2 separate regions of the Homo sapiens genome follow, and region 2 is linked to region 1. Evidence: promoter capture Hi-C in human tissues and cell types (Jung and others, 2019). All regions are on one chromosome and are shown on one strand. The core of a region is centred on a gene start or on the middle of the fragment in contact, and the rest is flanking DNA. Distances in the headings are between cores, read along the strand shown.

Region 1 (3,192 bases), core at 386-2,885:
CATAAAACCTCTTACTGCTCGGTTACCAGGGTGTGCTGGGTGTCTTTTGGGGAGGAGGAACCACACAAAGGGAAAGGATGGGAATTGGGGGGAAATTAAATTAAAAATGACTGTAGTTGAGACACATTGACACTAACAGGCTGCATTTCCGGGGTCTGGCCGTGTTTGCACCAACTGTCTGGGGTGTGGGGCGAGGCGTGCACAGGATTAAAGGAGATGGTGTCCTAGGGCTCTGGGCTGCAGCCTGGGGAGGTACACACAGGTCAGCCTTTGCCTCCCCAGGGTAAGTTTCCGGTGAAGAACATTCTTTACAAGTAAGAGGATCCTCTGAGCCTACTGGCCGAGGGGCCCAGCTTGGGGCTGAGGCTGGCCTGGGGCTGAGGCTGGCCTCTACTTACCGGCTAGGTCTTGAGCAAACGAACTGGCTTCCCTGGGCCTCCTTTTCCCTGTCCTTAAAATGGTGCAGGTGAGGACAATAGGAGCCCCAAGGGGTGCTGTGAGGGTGGCCAGTACGTGCCCTGCTAAGGGCTCCATAAAGCCTAATTTGTGGTCATGAGAGGGGGTGCAGCAGGACAGGGTGGGGGCAGCTCTTGAAAGCCCCATAAACTAAGAGAATAGAAAGGAAGGCACCCTGTCTCCACAGTGGAGGCCACCCCTTTGGCCAGAGGGAGGGTTGGCTGCTGCCCGGCCAAGGAGGGGCAGAGAGAATCTGGCAGAATTCACTGAGCCCTCGTGCTGGCAGCCCTGGAATGGGACCCTCCTGGGCCGTCCCTGGCCTGATGAACTGGCCCTGAGGCTACCTACCCCACAGCTTGGCTCGGATCCCGGCCACCCAGCTTCCAAGAAAGCCTGGAACCAGGAAAGGAGCGCCGCTGGCGTGGAAAGACACACTTGCATCCTAAAACACTTGGCCTCTGGTTGTGTTTCAGGAACTGGGAGGTGAGACCCTTTCTGGTGACTGACAGTTTTGTGCCTCTGGGCGCAGAGCCCTGTGGCTGGCCCTGGTATCCCCCCCTCCCCCCTCTCCCCGCTCTCCCTGGCCAATGCCAGCAACAACCCAGAGGGTAGCCCCACCACTTGCCAGGTTCAACGCAGTGTCCCCCGCAGCAGCCACGTGAGGTTCCTCGGATGGGGAGCTGTCCCTCCCCCCTGCCCCGCCCCTGGCCCCAGCCACACAGCGCCCACCCTCCTTGTTTAAGGGCCAGGAGGCCAGACTGCTGGGGCAAAGCTGTCACAGCAGCGAGGGAGAGAGCGCTGTCCCCCTCCCCTTCAAAAGCCACCTTGGCAAGGCATTAGCTAAACATCTTCTCGGTCCCAGAAGGCTTCCCCTGTGAAGTCTGCAGCGTTCAAACGACAACCAGCAAATCCCCAGAGACAGGTCCCTGGGAATTAGCTGCGCCGGGCGGGATGAAAGCCGCTCTGATGTTCTGGAGCGAGAGAGTAGAGAGAAGGAGGAAGACAGACACTACCTGCCAGTCGCAGGGTCCCGGGCAGCAGCAGCACGCCAAGGAGGAGCCAGGGGGCTGCGGGGAGCCCAGGAGGGCGTGGGAGGCCTGGCAGGGCCCGCCACCTCACAGGCTGGTTCTCCATCTGGGGGCCTGCTTGTCTGCGGCGACTCTTTAGTTCACAGGAGGGGACGGCCGGCGCTGACAGCTTCCCCTTTGCTTTCCCCACGAAGCTCCTCCCTGGCAGCCCCTGACCTTCCGCTCAGAAGCAAAGCTGGAACAGCCCAGCAGGGTGGCCGCCAGATGAGGAACCTGGCACTGAGACTGGTCCAGGCCACACAACCAGAAGAAGAGCTGGAGACGGGACCCAAGCCTCCCCACTCCAACCCCTGGTGGGCTTCACCCTGTCTCGGCCCCTTTCCAGCAGGGGCCCCGTCCAGGAGACACTGGTAACTGTGCAGAGGGATCATGGGATTTCCATGAGTGACTTCGGGCCTTGGTTTAGCCTCTCACTTCTGAAACACTTTTAAAACGACCACAAGCATGTTCACACAAACTTCTCTAAAATATTCTGAGAATCCCTTAATAATGTGTTTACCAAAGGTAGGTTTTTTGGTGAGGGGTGGTAGGGAGGCTGGGGTGAAGGGCAGGAGCCTCATGTTCCCAGCCCTAGAGAGGGCCAAACACCCAGGGCAGGTGAAAGGCAGGCTGCCCATCATTCACCCAGCGAGAACCTCTGTGGGTCCCCTGCAGAGGCCCAGGAGACGCCTCCTCTCTGGTCCATCTCTAACGTCAGCTCCTCCCTGTGGCTGCCCTAAAGCTTAGCTCACTCGGCCTCCCAACTGTGAGACCCTCGAACTGCTTCCCCATTGGCTGCAGGTCACAGCCCCTGCTCTCACTTCTAGCAGCATCAGCCGGGGACAGGAATTGTTTGCTGCCGGGACCCCCTTCCCCAGCAGACTGGGAGCCCCTCACCCTTGGCACCCACACATCTGCCTGCGTGTCTGGAGTGGCAGAGGAAAGGGGCTGGGGTGTGGTGATGGCTGGTGGAGCTGGAGGCACCTGGTACATGGAAGACGCAGGCGGGAAGGTGGCTGAGTTTCAGCGCATGCTGAGCGCTTACCTCCCTTCTCTGCAGGTGTCCCTTCACTCACCAGATAAATGTGATGATCCCAGTTGTACAAAAGAGAAGACCTCGGCCCCAGGAGGCAAAACAACATGCCTAGGATCAGGGCAGGTCTGTGGGGCGGGCATTTGAACTGCCAGTGGTATGATGTCCGAGCCTTCTCCCACCCTGCTACTGCCTGCTCAGGTGTGTCCAGCTGCAGCCCCCGGTGACGGCATCATGAGATCCATTTCAGTTCTTTGCACACATGCTTTTCCCTGGGCTGCTCCAAACATGAACAGTGAAAGCCTAAAGACGTTTCCACCAATGCCACGAGCACTGGGAGGCTGGCAAGAGCAGGGGCCGCCCACCAGGGGAGGAAGACATATGAACAGGAGAAGTTTCCTACCGCGCAGGGGGCAGGCGGGGACCCCAGTGTTATTGACTGTTGATCCATCACAGTGATACATGCTCACATATGTCACAGTGAGATGCAGACCCGCTGCTTCACGCTATTCCTGGCTCCTGGGAGTAGCAGGTTGTCTAAGCACCTTGATGCCATGGTGATAGACCTCGTGTCAATGCCTCAGGGTACACGGGGAGCATTGGAAAAGCATCGGTCTGTGCCTCTACAAGTCTCAT
Region 2 (3,262 bases), core at 1-2,500, 300 kb before region 1:
GCCCCGCCCTCGTCCCCATGCTCACACCTCCCTAGTGCAGGTGGTTTCTTGGCCCGCTGTCCCCACTCGCTGGCCTGTTTCATGTCCACGACCCCGCGCCCTCTCTGCCCAGCTCGGACTACGGTCATCACCCACCCGGGTCCCACGGAAATCTGTCTCTGTCCCCACCGCTGCTTGCCTTGGGAACGCGGCCCGAAACCCAGGATCTGGGTGATGGGCACAGGCGGGCGGTCGGCGGTGTCCTCGCCGTGGGTCACCAGCGCCTCGCGCACGGCCGCCAGCCCATTGAGCACGACCACCGGCGTCCAGGCCAGCTGCAGGCTGAACACGTCCCCGAAGCGGCGCCGCAACTGCAGAGGGAGGGTCAGGGCCTCTTGTCAAGCCAGGATCACCCCAGACTACAGGTCCTAGTCCTATTTGAACCTTGGACGACCCCCGGGGCTACCAGGAGTGAGCAGGTGGAAGGAGGAGACCCAGCCTCCTGATCGTGGGGCGGGGGTGGGGGTCACACCTTCTGTGATGGAGGAACTCAGTTTGGATGCGTCACCCAGGTATGACCTTGCAAGAGTCACCAAAATTGCCGAGAGGCCCCAGTTAGCATCCCATTCCCAGATGATGGTCCATGCCGGTGAGCAGTGAGGCCCGAGGACCCACAGTGCAAAAGGTTTGAACCGGGTCACTGCACCCCCTTCATCCTCGATTTCGTGATTTAAACGGCACTCAGGACTAACTCATCTTCCATTCCCAAGGCCTTTCCTTCTGGTGTCAGCAGAAGGGACTTTGTACTCCATAACATATGTTGCCCAATGGGCTTGCATGCCCACTGCCAAGTCCAGCTCCACCTCCAGGCCCTTGCCCTACTCTTCCTTGGCCTTTGGAAAATCCAGTCCTTCATGCCATGTATAAATGCCCTTCTCCAGGACGTCCCCCAAACCTGCTTCCCCTTCTCAGCCTGGCTTCTGGTCCAGCCTGTGGTTTCACCCACCATCCATGTTTGCTTCTGGTAGGGGAGCCTCAGCACCTCTGCCGCCCTCCAGGACCTCCTCCCTCACCTGGTCGAAGCAGTATGGTGTGTTCTGGAAGTCCACATGCAGCAGGTTGCCCAGCCCGGGCAGTGGCAGGGGGCCTGGTGGGTAGCGTGCAGCCCAGCGTTGGCGCCGGTGCATCAGGTCCACCAGGAGCAGGAAGATGGCCACTATCACGGCCAGGGGCACCAGTGCTTCTAGCCCCATACCTGCCTCACTACCAAATGGGCTCCTCTGGACACACCTGGCACCCCCACCCCACCAGGCACAGAGGACCAGGCAGGACACTCTCAGCACACCGAGCGCGTGACCCTTCCCTTATAAAGGGAGCTGATGATGGCCTTTGCCCTCTGCTGTGAGTGAACCTGCTGTGTTGACTGTGCTGCCAGTGGCAGAGTCAGGCCAGGGCGGGTATGGGCTGCTCCAGAGGTTCTTGCCCCTGCTTCCTGCTCCAGGCCCTTACCCAGGGTAGGCCGGTGGAGGGGCCTGGTCGGAGAAGTCACCCCCTCTCCCCACTCCAAGCTCCTGAAGCCTGCAAAGCCTTCTGGGATAACCAGGGTTTCAGTGGACCCGGCCATCCACCTCCCAGCTAGGCTCATACACCCTAATGTAGTCACAACCCCTCCTCCAGAACATGGCCTTGCCCTTTCCCTACCCCCACCTGCCCACTCCAGAGTGACCTTCAGCACCCTTATCTGTCACTGGCACTTACCTGGGGCCTTAGAGCTCCTGATGATGAGTGGCATCATGGGCCTGGTCCCTTCACTTCACCTTGCACTCTTGACATGCACAGACGCTATGCACACACCTGATGGTGCACAGATCTCTTGTCCACTCCCAGACACTTGTCCACTTGTTCACACTTGCAGGGACACGATTACACACGCAGAAAATCACCCACACAAAGACAATATTCACACATACACAGACTCACACTGACACTTAGGGCACACATTCTCTCTCACACACACCAGTCACACACACATACAGACCCGGCACCAAGTACCCCACTTCCCAGCCATGCCGGAGGTTTCCTGGATGGGACCACTCCTGTCCAGAGGCTGCTCCCAGCCCAGCCCACATTCCTGGGCTCTGGCCGGGCTATGGCTTCTTGTTTGCAACAGGGCTGTTCCCAGAGCTCCCAGTTGGTAGCCGGAAGGCCCTTGCCCCAGCCTGTGACAACATCCTCCCGGGCTGCCTGAGGGTCGTCCTCCTCCACTGCTTTCTGGCCTCCATGTTTCTGATTAGAAATCTGGTGGGAACGTTATGGAGGATCCTTTGTTCAGGATATGTTGCTTTATTTTTTTTTTCTTTAGACAGGGTCTCACTCTGTTGCCCAGGCCGGAGTGCAGTGGCAGGATCATGGCTCACTGCAGTCTCGACATCAAGTGGACCCCCTGCCTCCCAAGTAGCTGGGACTACAGGCACCACCCAGCCTAATTCTTTTTTTTTTTTTTTTTTTTTTGGAGACGGAGATTTCCTCTTGTTGCCCAGGCTGGTGGCTCCCCTCCATTGTGCAATGATGCAATCTCGGCTCACTACAACCTTCACCTCTAGGCTTCAAGCAATTCTCCTGCCTCAGCCTCCTAAGTAGCTGGGATTACAGGTGTGTGCCACCACGTCTAGCTTTTTGTATTTTCAGTAGAGATAGGGTTTCACCATGTTGGCCAGGCTAGTCTTGAACTCCTGACTTCAGGTGATCCACCCACCTCAGGCTCCCAAAGTGCTGGGATTATAGGCATGAGCCACCGCACCCAATCCCAGCTAATTTTGTATTTTTTGTAGAGACCGGGTTCTTCCAAGTTGTCCAGGCTGGTCTTGAATTCCTGGGGTGAAGCGATCCTCCCACCTGGGCCTCCCAAAGTGCTGGGATTACAGGCCTGAGCCACTGTGACTACCTGATACGTCTCTTCTCTCTTGCTGCTTTCAAAATCCTGTCTTTTGTGGGAGGGCAGCTGCCGAGCTCTGGACTTCTACGGGATCATCCACTGAGGACAGGAGGACCGGGCCCTCTACAGGTGGATTGTATGGCAGCTGCCATGCTTGGAGCCAGTGCTCACCGAGCACGTGGCGGCTGTGGAGCTGGACGCGGGGTTGATAAGTCCGCTGGGGGTGACGGGCTCATCCATGAGTGGTACTTGATGTGGCTGCAGAAGGCGGATGTGGTGGTGGCAGAAGTGACACAACTGTCCCTGGGTATAGGCTATGATCTGTGCCAGGCCACAGCCCTCAATAAG

What was found. Contacts are between HindIII fragments. The study calls those that stand out against the background at their distance.
Region 2: the fragment with the promoter of CYP2D6 here is called in contact with the fragment with the promoter of NFAM1 in region 1 in 10 of the 25 tissues and cell types used here (H1 embryonic stem cells, IMR-90 fibroblasts, adrenal gland and 7 more).

The regions. Positions count from the first base shown.
Region 1 is chr22:42,430,768-42,433,959 of GRCh38, forward strand. NFAM1 (NFAT activating protein with ITAM motif 1) reads right to left here and starts at 1,636. Exons shown (of 6, transcript NM_145912.8): 1 at 1,470-1,636. The coding sequence starts at 1,590. The HindIII fragment of the contact is 19,415 bases long and covers 1-3,192 here.
Region 2 is chr22:42,129,560-42,132,821 of GRCh38, forward strand. CYP2D6 (cytochrome P450 family 2 subfamily D member 6 (gene/pseudogene)) reads right to left here and starts at 1,251. Exons shown (of 9, transcript NM_000106.6): 1 at 1,053-1,251; 2 at 179-350. The coding sequence starts at 1,232. RefSeq lists promoters at 1,257-1,723, 1,310-2,842 and a cis regulatory region at 2,536-2,547. The HindIII fragment of the contact is 22,528 bases long and covers 1-3,262 here.